Linked DNA regions of Homo sapiens: regions 2 and 3 are each linked to region 1. The links are contacts of gene promoters, found by promoter capture Hi-C in human tissues and cell types (Jung and others, 2019). All regions are on one chromosome and are shown on one strand. Each heading gives the region's core, a stretch centred on a gene start or on the middle of the fragment in contact. The rest is flanking DNA. Distances are from core to core; before and after follow the strand shown. Region 1 holds the start of SETD9 (SET domain containing 9). Region 2 has its middle 19 kb from the start of PLK2. Region 3 overlaps DDX4 (DEAD-box helicase 4).

Region 1 (4,985 bases), core at 1-2,500:
AGCCAGAGGCAGAAACGAAGTTCAGCTCTTTCCCGTACTACACCCAACAGCCAAGCTGAATGTCATCACAATGAGAATGAATGACCTCACATTCAATGGCTTTTTAAAAATGGCCTTGTAGTTTCAAAGACAAATTCAACATCGTATACTTTGTGACACTCCCTCCAGGACGACTAACGTCTTCAATGACTGCACCTCTTATTTCCATAATCATTATCTTTTTGTACTAACTGCATTATTTTTACTTGAACAAAAAGGTTGTAATTCCCGCCTCACGGTTCCGAGTCATGATACAACTGATCTCCTGTTTCCCTAGCATGCAACCTTCCGGAAACCGCTTTGTTTCCCTATTTGTCGGACACTGACTTCAGGGAGGCCCGGTCGGCCTCTTTGGTGAGCACGGTGTTGAGCTGATCACTGGTGCGCCCTTAATAACGCCGGCGGGACTCACCCCAATCCGAAACCCACCATCCCGACGTGCTTTTGAGTGGCGTTCTGCCCGTTCTTAACGCGCGAGCTACTGCACGCTATTCTCACAGCCGGGATGGGCTTCTTTAACCACGTGAAGTACTTGTATGAACTATGAAAATAAACCCTGGCTTGGCTTTTCTGAGGAAGTTCAAGCACCTAATTAACCCCTGGTGGAGAAAAAGCCACGCACTCTCACGCGGTAAGGGCAGTCTTTTTAAAAAGTTTCCATTTTTGCCCAGATACAAGCTCCCCAGTCAGTGCCGAACGCAACAGGGAAGAACAGGCGACACATCCGGCTGGCGAGCTCGGCCTCGCGGGCCCGGCAGCGCAGCGGACACTGGGAAAGAGGCCATAGGCCCCGCCCACCTGAAGCCACCGCCCACTTCAGGCTTCCAGCGGGCCTCGGACTCCACCAACCTCGGCCCCGCCCGCCTCTGGCCCGCGTTCCTTAAACCCCTCCGAGGCCTCAGTCCCCGCCCACCCGGCCCGCCCACCTCAGTCCCTGCCCACCCGGGCCCGCCCATCTCAGGCCGGCAGTCAGCCTCAGGCTCTCCGCTTTGCGTCCCGCCGCCGTGGTGGCGTCTGGGAACCGAAGGCAGGTGCCCCTCGTTCTGCCGTCCCGCCCTCTCACCTCGGGTTGTGGCTTAGGTTCAGTGCGATCCAGGGAACGAAGCGGTACTTGTAACGGCGCCATCGCTGCCACAGGCCCCGCAGCAGACGGCCAGGCATGGCTGCCCCGCGGGGCCGTGACCAGGACGGCGCGGGGAAGGCGGATCGAGGCCTCGGGCCCGCCCCGGCCCGGGAGGAGAGGGGGCCGCGCTCGGCCGCCTTCCCCTGGCTCCGCTCTCAGTGTTCCTGGCACCGCCTGACTTCTGTTGCTCTGGGGCTTCGTCCTTCCCCTTTCCTGACCTCACCTCTCTGAATGAGAGGCGCGTAGAGCTGGAAGGAGGTCCCCTTGACCACTTTTTCTTTCTCCGGTCGCTCGGGTGCTTCCGTGGGCGCACACAAGCGCTAGCCCTGGTTGCGGGCGAAGGGTCACCGGGCCTCAGGGGCGAACCCGCCCCCGAGACCGCGTCCCAGGAGCGGACCGCCTAGTTTCTCTGTCACGGCTGTCTGGCCTGCCCCTTTGTCCCGGCCGCGCTCTGTGTTCCATCCTCCGTCCACTTGAGCTCTGCCTCTTCCTCGACGTTCTCTCCCCTTCTCTCCGTGGCCCCAGAGCAGCCCGACTTCGGGAACCCGAGTTTCAGTCCTCCCCAGACAGCAGCCCTTCTTCTGCGTGAACCCGTGTTCCCAAAGTTACCAGTTTGGGCGTTTTGCGAATATTTACACGTAAAAAAACAAAGTGTCATGATTCCCTGTTTTCACTCGTTTTTCTCTTCATTGACCCAACCATTCAAAGGCAAAACTACATGGACAAATGTTTCTGAAAAACAGCTTTGTTGAGGAATGGTTGGGATACAATAAACTGCACATATTTAAAGTGAACAATTTGATAGGTTTTCGACACCACAGCCAAGATAGTAATCCAGCCCCTCCCCCAGTCCCCAAGCAACCACTGAGGTGCTTTTGTCCTTTTAATATGGTCTTCGCTTCAATTTGGAAACGTTTTGTCTAGAAGTTCTGCATCTGTGTTCGTGAGAGATATTGTTTCGTAGTTTTCTTGTAGTGTCTTAATCTGGCTTTGGTATTTAGGCTAATGTTGACTTCATAGGATGAGGTGGGAAGTAGTCCCCCATAGGTGAAATTTAAAAGGAACTTTACGACCGCTCCTCCCCAACACCCAGATGCATGCACACGCACACACATATTTAGAACAGGTTTGGACAAAGTTCAGTTTTAAGGGGGGCAAACTACAGGAATCCCTTAACCATATTCAAATCACCAAGTGTTTATTGACAGATAAATACGTTGGTATCATTTCCTCTATTCTTTGCCTGAGAGTGAGGTTGGATCCTAAACTATTGAAATTGAACGGCTCAGATCTAATAAAAACTCAGCCAAGGCCGGGCGCAGTGGCTCACGCCTGTAATCCCAGCACTTTGGGAGGCCGAGGCGGGTGGATCCCCTGAGGTCAGGAGTTCGGGACCAATCTGGCCAACATGGCGAAACCCCGTCTTTACTAAAAAAGAACAAATACAAAAATTAGCCGAGCGTTGGTGGCACGTGCCTGTAGTCCCAGCTACTCAGGAGGCTGAGGCAGAAGAATCGCTTGAACCTGAGAGACGGAGGTTGCAGGGAGCCGAGATCCGCCACTGCACTCCAGCCTGGGTGACAGAGTGAGATCCCGTCTCAAAAAAAAAAAAAATTCAGCCAATCGCCAGTAGCTGCGGGACTAATTTGTTCTATTCTGAAAGAAATAAAGAGAAAGAGTATCTACCAATGTCTCTATTTCGTTCATATCATATAGAATGTTAGCAAACTCTAGAGGCTTTCTCTCAGACTCTGTGTTTGTTTGATAATTTGGCATAATCTAGATTTACCTGACTTGCTAAATGGAGTCAATTCAGTTCCAGGATGTATTAATAAGTGGCATACAAGAAAGTTTCTTTATAGTCTCCAAACTTAACAAAGAACCCAAAAGAACTAGTTTAATCTTTACCTATGGTAATGTACTTGTCTAAAAAAAGAAAAAAATCAGTTTTTGTATATTTTTACAGTTTTTTTATATTTATGGTATTAAAATTAAATTTTGGTTAGCTAAGTAATTAATGAAAACCTTCTTTTTCTAGTTTCTTAAAGTAGGTTATTAGGTCACTAATTTTAATCTTTTCTTCTTTTCTAATGGAAGCATCTAAAGTTATACAAATAGAAACATGGTAGCTAAAGCTCAAGTCACCCTTAACCAAACACCGTACCTTGTACTTCCACCAATCCTGGTACTTGGCGCTTCTCAGAAGTTATCAGACGGGTGTGTTTTCTGCCAGTTTTATTTTTATGTATTTACATACCCGCGTATGTTTTTATAGAAAATACATAGTATTTTGTGTGAGTATTGTTAAAATATTATAAGGATCCACAACTTATTTGATTTCCTCAAAAATACATCTTGAAGATCTACCCATATTGGTTTAAGTCTACTGCATTCTTCTATTTTTGAGGTTTTGCCTTCAAGTTTAATATTTACTGTAGTTTTCTAGTAGGTATGTATACTTTATGAAGTTTTTTAAAGTTCTATTTTTGACTTTCCAAAAATTTTTATTGTTTTAAATTTTAAATGAATGATAAATATCAAATGCTTTTCTCTGCTTATTGAGATGACCATATAGTTTCTATTCATTTATTCATGTAGTGAATGATGACACATTGTCAAATGTTGACCGTCCTTGGATTTCTGACATAACTACTCAGTTATGAGTACCTCTTTGGTCAGATCCTGTAGGTTTTAATATATGCTATTGTCATCCCACATTTATTTTGAAGTATGTTTTAAAATTTTTTAGATAGAATTTGCCTGTGAAAACATCTGGGCTTGTAATTTTCTTTGATAATAAATTCAACTTATTTTAAAGATATAGGGCTATTCATAATGTCCGTTTCATCTTGTGTTGTTTGGTAAGTTATATTTTTATGGAATTTGTTCATTTTGTCTAAGTTGCCAAATATCTTGGTATAAAGTTGTTTATAAATACTGTCTTACTAACCTTTTAATGTCTGTATGATCTGTTGTAATAGCCCATTTTTGTTCCTGATTTTGGTGATTTGTGTTCTCTTCTTCATCATTGTAATTGAGGGTTTGTCAATCTTTTCAAAGAAACAGCTTTTGGCTTTATTACTTTTCCCTGCTTATTTTTTATTTTGTTGACCTCTGTTCTTATCTTTTTTCTCTCTTTTTTTATTTTTAGTGATGGGGTCTCACTGTGTTGCCTGAACTGGTCCCCAAGTGACCCAACTGCCTATGCCTTCCAAATAATTGGAATTACAGGCATAAGTCACCGTGACCAGTCATATTCTTATCTTTATTATTTTATGTTTTCTACTTAAACATAAAGTAGTTTATTTTTCTCTTCTTTTTCTAGTTTCTTAGAATAGAATATTAGGTCACTGATTTTGGTCTTTCCTTCATTTCTATAGAAGCATCTAAAGTTATAACTATCCTTCCAAACATTACTGTAGCCAAATCTCAGGAATTTTGATATGTTGTATTTTCATTATCATTCAGTACAAAATATTTTTAAAATTTCTTTGTTATTTATGTTTTTAATCCATGAAATATTTAGAAATGTGTTTTTAATTTCCAAATATTTGGGATTTCTAGATATCTTATTGTAACTGGTGTTTAGTTTAATTCTGTTGTGTCAGAAAACATGAATGATTTCAATTCTTTTAAATTTATTGACTTGTTTTGTGTCCCAGCATGCACTCTATCTTGGTGAATATACCGTGTTCAGTTGAAAGGAGTGTATATTCTGTAGTTGTTGGGTTTAGGGTTCTATAAATATTAAGTAGGTCATTGGTTCATAGTGTCTTTTAAATCATCTGTCTTTATTGATTTACATAACTTTTAAATACAGATG
Region 2 (4,985 bases), core at 1,863-4,362, 1.5 Mb before region 1:
GATACATTTAATTTAAAAAGATCCTGAACCTGTCAGATAGATTGGAATGTAAGTTCAGATCTTTCTTGTAGTAGGACAATAATTAGGTAAACAGGAAATTTAGCACCAACTTTGACATCATATATCTTAGTCTGTTTTGCATTTCTATATTGGGATATTACAGACTGGGTAATTTTTAAAGAAAAGGAAGTTATTTCTTACAGTTCTGGAGGCTGGGGAGTCCAAGAGCATGGAGCTAGCATCTGGTGAGAATCTTCATTCTGTGTCATAAGATGCGGAAGGCATCACATGGTGAGAGAGCAAGAGCATGTATATAAGCTCAGGTCTCTCTTCCTCTTCTTTAAAGCAATCAGTTTCATCATGGGGTCCCATCCTGATGACCTTATCTAATCCTAATTACCTCCCAAAGTCCCCACCTCTAATTAACATATGAATTTTAGGTTTCCAACCATGAAATTTGGGGGATGTATTCAAACCATTGCATTGTGGTTCCAGAGCTGTTACATGTTTTATCCACAACCTCACTCAGCAAGAAAATCTCCCTTCTAGAGGGAGAAATTTATGGTGCAGAGATCAACTGGATGGCCAGGTAGCTAAGGTAACTTTGCAATGTAGATATTCCATCTCCAGATCATAAAGAGTGGTTTCCAGTTGCCTTTTGCAAATTTCTATTTTCTTATAATGGCAGAACTGAAATGTTTTAAAATAAATTTTTGTCCATGTCCACTTTGGTTTGCAAAAGGCATTTTGTGTTTAAAAGAGAGCATGTTGGTAGTCCTTTACACTGAACAGGACAGATGTAGAAGCTATAAAGACTTCTTCATAAACCACTTTTGGGGAAGAACCTAACAAACAAAGCATGAGGATATATCACACTGAGTACATTAGAGCAAGACTTTTACACTTGTTCTTTGCCAAAAGGCCAAGAAGTGATTAAAGCAAGATTTTTTAAGTTAAAATTTAATATAGTTGTAGAAGAGTAAGCTTCAATTGATTTACTTTAATGGCATGAAGAAAGGAGTTATTCCTCCTCTATGTCCAAAAGTGACATAGAAACAAAATTTGGTAGGAAAATCAAGAAATCTTAATTGAATAATTTTTAAACAGTTTATTATACAAAATTATAAAGCATAACTTTACAGTTATGCTTTATTCAATTCAACTGAGATGCATCCTTCAATATCCACTACATGGTTTGGAACATGTTAAGCTTGCTATTGATAAAACAGTCCGTTTTTTTTTTTTCTCACAGTACTGAACAGCTGTGTACTGCCAAAGGCACAGTGCATATATACGGATGGTGACTACACAGTTTACCTGGGAAACTCTTAATCATGCCTTGTGTCAGTTAAAAATCTTTGTATTTGGCTGGGATTGGTGGTTTACTGCATAATATCAGCACTTTGGGAGGCTGAGGTGGAAGGTTTGCTTGAGCCTAGAAGTTCAAAACCAGCCTGGGCAACATAGCGAGATGCTGTCTCTCCAAAAAAAAAAAAAAAAAAAAAAAAAAATTACCTGAGTGTGCAACTGGTGTGTCAGGAGCCTGAGGTGAGAGGATTGCTTGAGTCCAGGAGGTGAAGGCTGCAGTGAGCCAAGATCACACCATTTTACTGCAGTTTGGAGGACAGAGAGAGATCCCATCTCAAAAAAAGTATGCATTTCTAAGATGAATTATATGGTTATCCCATGAAATACTCATTGCTATCCCATGTGAGTTTAATGTAGCTAAGATGCATTTAGCATGACCCACTTATGTTACCACACCTTTGATTTCAATTGCTTTTCCTATAAAGGTAGGTTAAATTTTTTTCATGCTATAAGCATTTATGACCTTATTTTTAGGCTTTATTAAGCACAACAGCAGAAAAATGAATTCGGGCTATGTACATTTATTCAGATCCTACTACACATTATATTATTTTTTTACTTTATCTGCTTTGTTGACCACTATGACTGTGGTGGTAAAAATTGTTAATGACAGTCAGTGACACAAGGTACCATCTGGTTTATGAGAATGAAAGAAATGTATTTAAGCAGGATATGGTTTCTCTAATCACCAATCTTTTGCAGACTGACTCATAATCAATTACCTGTCATTTCAACTTGGAAGTATATGGTTTGTTGTATTACATCGCAACGTTATTTCATCCTGGCTTCAGAGAGGAAGGACTGAAATAGAAATATGAAATCTTTGTTTCAAATAAAAGTGATTTGCTACAATTTTGGCAGACATAACTGGAAAAACAATTTGAGAGGAAAAATGAATGAATTTGAAGTGTGCTCTGGCAATAATAGGTCTCATTCATTATAAAATACTTAAAATGTGCTGTGATGTGGTGGTGAAACTCTGACAGAGTTTAAATATAGCCACACTAGCTTCTTTGGTCAATATTAGCTGAAATGCCAATGCTAACTAAACACACAAAGACGTCATAATTATTTATCTAGGAAAGGAAGTTGTAAAATAATGTTCTTCTGGATTCCTAGATACTTCAAAAGAATTTCTCCTTGAACTTAGTAACATTACCAATTTGCTAATACATTTAGAATTGCAATTGAATTGATATATTTTATGGGGTTCCTTGAGAAGTAAAAGTAAGAATGTGCTTTATGCCAGGCATATAACAAGTGGTTTGCTTTAGTGATGTAAATAATACACTAGTGTACTACATCACAATTTAAAATATTCATTTGGTCTTCCCTGATTCTAAGTGGCTTTTCTCTTAGCACTCATGACATAAGAATGGCATATTATGATTTCTTGAAGCCACATTTTAATTTTATTTGTGAGAAAAACAAAAACAGAAATGAAGACTGGGAGCTTTAATAACTTAAAATGAGACTTTCATTGTATGTATTTAAAGATTTCCAAGAATTAATAATCAAAAATATAGTCTTAAGTATCTTTAGGATATGTCAATATATTTATTGAAAATTAAAAAAAAATTGTTATTTTAAAAAATAGCAGATACTATAGGTTGTATCACAGTACCCCAGATTCCTGTAAAGCAGACTCAAGCTCTCATTCTTCTGCTCCATTAGTGAGTTCAGCATTGAAATGCCTAAAGTAACTGATTTTTTTAAAAAAAATCATTTATTTCAGTTACACAGGCAGTGTCTTAATTTCTCTATGTGTTTGAGTGACTTTTTCAGTGAAGCACAATGAGCTTTTCAGAAAAAGTATTACACATCCTGATATTTGACCTAGCACTATTGCTGTAGTACCAGTCTGATACTAAAACACACCAAATGTCTGTAGGGCAAGTTTCTTGTGACCCTGAAGGAATTTCAGGTCAATAAATTAGAGAGAATCTCAACATTTGGTTATATTCTAACATACTGATCCCATTGAAATTATTGTAGATTGTTTTCCAAACATCGTGTGCTTGTTTTTGTGGGCATGAGATGAACAAAAGAACAGTTTCTTGACAGGTTAATGGAAGAATGTTGCTCACTTTATAAAATAAAACAAAACAACACAAAAAACACATCTCTAACCAAAGCATGCAAAATATGACTGGTGCCATGAGGAAGAATCATTTAAGCTAGAACTTCCTGTATTTAAGAAAGTTAACAAAATTGTTTGAGGAATGAACTGGTTTTGTGTGTGTGTGTGTGTGTGTGTGTGTGTGTTAGACACTGCTTATTACAACTAAGTGAAGAACTTTGACAGGTGCTTTGCAGAGTAAAGTTAAAAATTACTTTGCAGAGTAAATATAATTATTTCTTAGAAGACTTTTAGCAGTGTATTAGTTTATTGTCTTCCTTAAAACAAAAGAAGGAAAAGCTAAATGATACTAATTAAATTTAGAAAAAAATTTCCTCCCCGATATAGTTGATAAAGTATAATATTCACAAAAATTCTTATTTGTGAATTTCAGATTCTTTGAGAAAAATGCTTTTGTATCATTTCAAAGTCAACTTTGATAGCCAATAACATCTTTATGGAAAACATTTTATTTGTTCAGGTGCTTTGGACAATCCAACCCAATGTGGAAGTTTGCATTTCTTATCTTAAAATGTCCTCTCAAGAGTTAGCATACCACATCAAATTTAAAAGCCATAGCTGTCTCTGTGGCTTAATGGTTTTATCCCTGCGAACTCTGGCTTGTTGAAGTATTCATTAGGAAGACCTCAGCTGTCTGGCTGCTGTACCTCAGGGACTGTTTGGAGAGCTTACAAACTCTCTAGTTCCCCTGCGCAGAAAGCCTGCCAGCCAGTCTGACTAATGAAGACAGTCAGACTGTCCAGTAAGCCTGTTGTGCCATTGCTGGATTATTTAGCGAAGTGGCGCTTTTAGTGTCCAAGCAAAGCCTGTTTCATCATTTTATGCAATTTTCTTGGCCAGTTTCTATAGAATATGTTGTTACCTGTGCGGAGCAAATGATCAATGTTTATGTCTATAGCTAGAACAAATCAGGTAAAACAAAGCTTCGGTGGACAGTATAAGATAAGGGGATTGTAGCCCTCAGCAGTTGTCTGTAAAACGGTAAGATCTATAAAATTGGAAAGTCTATTTGCTGCATTGGCATTCAAAGTAAAACAGGAAAAATAGTAATAATAATAATACAAATTGTGATGAGTTCAGTGTAGCAAGAATCTTTGATAAAACCATAATTTCAGTTAAAAAGCACATTTAAATGTGTTCAATAAAAGCCTCATATTTCTATTTCTAGAGCATCTCTTTCACAACACTTTAGAAGCATTAGTTCCTTCATTCTAGTGATGGTAGTGGGTGACAAGTATTATCCTCTCCATTTTAAAGACAGAAATTGATCATCAGATAAGCGAACAATTTATTCATCATTGCAGAGTCAGAGGTAAATAGAACCTGGAGACAAAGAATATGAATAAACTGAGTTTATCTCTTTGTTCATTTCATCCATAATTTTTTGAAGAAGACATACTGCCACTAATTCATCTGGAAAAAAAACATAAAGATGAGTCCTCCCAGCAGCTTAGATATTAATTTTTTAGAAGCTTGC
Region 3 (4,985 bases), core at 696-3,195, 1.1 Mb after region 1:
ACTCCTAGGGACCAAGAAAAAAAAAAAAAACAATTTTCAAAGCACCCTGAGTATCACACACAAGTCGCATTCATCATAAAAGTGAAGACAACCAATATCTTTTGGGATCTTTTAAGAAAATTAACATCAAACCTGGGAAGGTAATATGAAAAATGCATGATCTGTCTCCTTCAAAACAAAAAAACACTACAAACAGGGTAAACAAATTGCTCAAAAATTGTGTGATCCAAATTCAAAGCAAGCTGGTATGTGGAATGGCTTTGGGCAGTTTTCATTTGACCCTGACACTTCCCATTCTCCCTGCAGACACAAAAGTCATAAAATTAGGAAGATAGTAAAGGTGAGGCAATCAAGACTGTGTGAATTGGCCCATCCAGTGAACAATATTTATATAAACACATGCTTTTGATTTTCAATTCTGGAATCTGTGTATATAAGGGAGACTTTATGGTTATAGAAAATGCAAATGTTAACTTGGGAAATGTAAATGTGCAGTTTACAGATGTTATGACATACAAATAGAGGAAAGGAAAAGGTGCCTTTAAAATCATCTCACAGGTATACTTCTACGGCGAGTCAGAGATGTGAGTTAAATCTTCATATATCAAAGTCAACAGACGTTCTGGTTGGTGACATAAAAATACAGGTTGAGCATCCCTAATCCAAAAATTCAAAATCCCAAATGCTCCTAAACCTGAAACCTTGAGCACCAATGTGATGCCTCAGATTGTCCACATGTGACTAAGATAGTGACACCTTAGTTTTCAGACAGCTCAAGGTACACAAACTTTGTTTCATGCACAAAATTACTTAAAATATCAAAACTTATCTTCAAGTTGTATATGAGGTATAATGAAACAAATGAATTTCATGTTTAGGCTTGGGTCCCATCTCCAAGATCTCTCATTATATATTATGCAAATATTCCAAAATCCAAAAAAAAATCTGATATCTGAAACATTTCTGGTCCCGAGCATTTCAGATAAGGGATACTCAACCTGTATATGATGGCAGTGAACAGAAATTGTTAATAATAGCTGATTGTTGGATGTGGAATGGCAATTTGGAAGGGGAGGGGCAGAAAAATATTGCTTTCTATTATAAATGCTTCTATGGCATTTTCTTTTCTAATTTATGCATGTTACTTTGATAATTTTTAAAGAGATGATTCAAACCTATACCTAGAAATGAGGAGAGTAATTAAACATAGGGACATTTACAGTTCATCTGTAATGGTGGTAGATGTATGATACATTTCCTTTCCTTTTTTATATTTGATTCAGTAATGCTACTATGGTAATCTGACAAATCAAGCAAAAGCTTAAAAGGAATCAGTTCAGAGGGAGCAATCTGTTAAAAAAAAAAAAAGCAATGAAAAAAATGAGACAAGACTGGCCTATACTCTTCCTAAACGAAACTAGAAAATTAAGACATACAGATATTACAAATAACAATCCAAACACCTTCATTCATTTAGCCTTTCCCAGAAGTGAGATAACAGAAGAAAAGTGAAATATGTCCCATATTTTTATTAATTGAACTTCCCTTTTTGAGTTTTTCTTGTTGTCAACATTTTTTCTTTTTATTATTATACTCGAAGTTCTAGAGTACATGTGCACAACATGCAGGTTTGTTACATATGTATACATGTGCCATGCTGGTGCCCTTTTTGAGTTTCTATGTTCTTTGTATTCTTCTATTAGTATATCCACATATAAAGAACACTGATAACCACTGTGGTCACAGTAATATTTTTCCTTGTCTACTTTTCACTATTTTTTATGTAGGCAACTAATCTTTCCTTGAGTGATCAAATCTGTTGTTTCTTTTTTGATTTCTGTTCCTTAGCTTAAAGTCAACCCTTCAAAGGGTTAATATTTAACTATTAGCTTTAATATTTTATAATTCACATGAAGTTAATTTTAAATATGGCATGAGGTAGGCATCTACCCAGTTATTCTAACACTATCTGTTGATATGCCTTCCTTTTTCATATGTGATGCCTCATTTATTAACTAAATTCCTATAACAAGATATACATCAGGGACATGTCACTTTGGATTGTTTAGGTGAACAGTAACACTTAATACCAATCATTTTTGTCTCCCCAGTATTTACACCTCACTGGGTCTTAAATATTTGGGTTCGTTCATTTAACAATTAATTAATAACTTCGGGCTGGGTGCGGTGGCTCACGCGTGTAATCCCAGCACTTTGAGAGGTGGAGGCGGGCGGATCACGAGGTCAGGAGTTCGAGACCAGGCTGGCCAACATAGTGAAACCCGTCTCTACTAAAAATTAGCTGGGCATTGTGGCGCGTGTCTGTAATCCCAGCTACTCGGGAGAGGCTGAGGCAGGAGAACTGCTTGAACCCGGGAGGCAGAGGTTGCAGTGAGCCAAGATCACGCCATTACACTCCAGCCTTAGCAACAAGAGCAAGACTCCGTCTCAAAAAAAAAAAGAACTTCATTATTCTAGGCATAGTAAGTTCAAGATATATAATGGAAAATGAAGAAAGACAGGGTTCTTTCATCAATCTTAAAATATGAATCAAAAACTTATGGAAAGAGTAAGCAGCATTGTTTTTTGTTGATAAACGGGTTTGAGTTCTAAGATTGATTTTCATTGCCACATCTGTGCAGTAATGTTTATACATTAATATTTAATTTATGTAAGACTTTGTTCACTGCACTGGTTACGCAAGACACAAAAAAACAGTTTCAAAAATATAGGAGTTTGGGCTAGGATATGCAACAAAGAAAAATTTAAAGTGCTGATGGAAAACTTAAGGGAAAAGTGTTTCATCCTTTATTTCAAGGAAAGATTGTATATTATAAAAATAAACATTGTTATGCCATTGAGTACAGAGCTCCCATCACAAACATTTAACCATTTTCATCATACATCTGATGATCTAAAAATCAAAATCACTTTGAAAGGCTTAAGTATTCTACTTTCTCTTAAAGATTATCACATTATAGTGACACACTACTGTTTTAAAGACTCAAGTAAAAATGAGACCCAGTAATTTTTAACCAAAAGTGTATCATATCCTATTTGCTTGTTTTATAAGATCAATAAACACTATAGTAAGACTTGGCATTTAAACATTAAACATGTCTAAGCCCCCTAAAGAATATACCAGAAATAAGAAAGACATTTAGAATGCTTTAATATTCCCAGTTAACACCATTTGTATCAGTAACTGCAATGTTGTAAGTTTTAGCATCTCACATAACTAGTCAGTAAGGATTTTTTTTTTAAGTGTAGGAGTGAGAATACAAGGACAGGAGCTATGAGAATGTTAAGTTTTATACTTCTGTTAAAAACTCAAAAATCAAAACTATTTTCTTCTCTGCATCAAAACCACAGACTTGAAGGATGTTTTGGCTTTAATCCCATGACTCATCATCTACTGGATTGGGAGCTTGTGAAGAAGAAAACCCAGCTGTGTTCAAAGTGCTCTTGCCCTGGTAATTATTTAAAAAAAAAAAAAAAGAAACAAACAAACATTTAATTTTATGACAGCTTTAAAGTTACATCACTCAGACTGAGAGCAAGGACTCAAAGTATCTACCATGTCTTCCCCAAATAATCAAAGAACTTTATTCTCACTAAATCTGATTCACCTGAAAAAAGGCTCCTGTCAAATGAGGAAATCTAAATTGCACAAAATGTTTCAAGAAAAATATTTTTTAAGTCAATAGTTTTGACAAGTGGGGAAAACTTAATGCACTACACTCAATGAATCAGCATAAATATTTAATTAACATGCTCATTGTTTCTGAATAAAGGCGGTGTTCAGCCTATAAAAACCTGACATACCAGAAAAGACTTGTAGCCTCGTGGCTGGGCGCAGTGGCTCACGCCTGTAATCTCAGCACTTTGGGAGGTTGAAGCAGGTGGATCACTTGAGGCCAGGAGTTTGAGACCAGCCTGGCCAACATGGTGAAACCCTGTCTCTATTAAAAATACAAAAAAAAAAAAAAAAAAAACCAGCTAAGATGGTGGCACATGCCTGTAATCCCAGATACACTGGAGGCTGAGGCATGAGAATTGTTTGAACCTGGGAGGCGGAGGTTGCAGTGAGCCAAGATCATGCCACTGCACTCCAGCCTGGACAACAGAGCCAGACACTATCTCAAAAAAAAAAAAAAAGAAAAGAAAAAGAAAAGACTTGTAACCCCAACAGGTCCTGTATTTTATATTAATTAATGTTGTCAGAATTCAAAAATTAAATAATTCCATCAGAAGTTTAAAAGATTCCAAATTAAAATTTAAAATCTGGGAAAGGAGACTGTTTAGGCATAAATCTCAAAGTTAATTCCTGACCTTTAAAACCAAAAATATGTATATACATAAAATGTTAATGAAATAATAAAGTAGCTACCTTCCAGGCACGAAAACAATGGCTTGATTATTAAATATTATAGTTACTTCACAATATTAAGCACAACATTTACAAAGAGTAACTAGAAGACAAGTTCTCAAGTTTTCCTTTCTACTAACCTTTCTGGTATCAACTGATGCAAACACGTTTCCTCTTGTACTACCACTGAAGCCAGGAATGTATGTACTAAAGGCAATTTCTTCCAACCATGCAGGAACATCCTGTTGAGCCTTTAAAAAAAATTGACTTCATATGCAACATAAAGTATTAAATATTGGAAAAGTTTACTTGTTATATACACATGCATAAAATGTCTACTTTCAACAACAAAGTAAGAAAACTATCCATTCCATCATAAAAGTTTAACTTACATCTGTCAATACTTTTACTAGAGGCTGTGCTAAATGGTTATCCGATTCAAGATCAAAAAAGGAAATTGCTCTGCCAGTATTCCCACAACGACCAGTACGCCCAATTCGATGAACATATTCATCAATGGTAGAAGGAAGATCAAAATTGATAACATGTTGCACATTTTCAATATCCAGCCCTCTGGCAGCTACTGAAGTAGCAACAAGAACTGGGCACTTTCCAA

Evidence for each region. Contacts are between HindIII fragments. The study calls those that stand out against the background at their distance.
Region 2: a contact is called between a fragment that was not itself captured here and the fragment with the promoter of SETD9 in region 1, in 1 of the 25 tissues and cell types used here (IMR-90 fibroblasts).
Region 3: a fragment that was not itself captured here is called in contact with the fragment with the promoter of SETD9 in region 1 in 1 of the 25 tissues and cell types used here (spleen).

What each region holds. Positions count from the first base shown.
Region 1 is chr5:56,905,861-56,910,845 of GRCh38, reverse strand. SETD9 (SET domain containing 9) reads right to left here and starts at 1,250. Exons shown (of 6, transcript NM_153706.4): 1 at 1,103-1,250. The coding sequence starts at 1,200. RefSeq lists enhancers at 1-589, 685-734, 1,525-1,614 and silencers at 775-984, 1,165-1,374. The HindIII fragment of the contact is 10,546 bases long and covers 1-4,985 here.
Region 2 is chr5:58,438,491-58,443,475 of GRCh38, reverse strand. No RefSeq gene overlaps it. Among named protein-coding and RNA genes, the nearest start is that of PLK2, 19 kb to the left of the region's middle. The HindIII fragment of the contact is 4,029 bases long and covers 1,098-4,985 here.
Region 3 is chr5:55,814,948-55,819,932 of GRCh38, reverse strand. It overlaps DDX4 (DEAD-box helicase 4), which reads right to left. Exons shown (of 22, transcript NM_024415.3): 20 at 4,762-4,985; 21 at 4,510-4,620; 22 at 2,776-3,470. The coding sequence ends at 3,393. Among named protein-coding and RNA genes, the nearest start is that of IL31RA, 34 kb to the left of the region's middle. The HindIII fragment of the contact is 5,399 bases long and covers 1-4,644 here.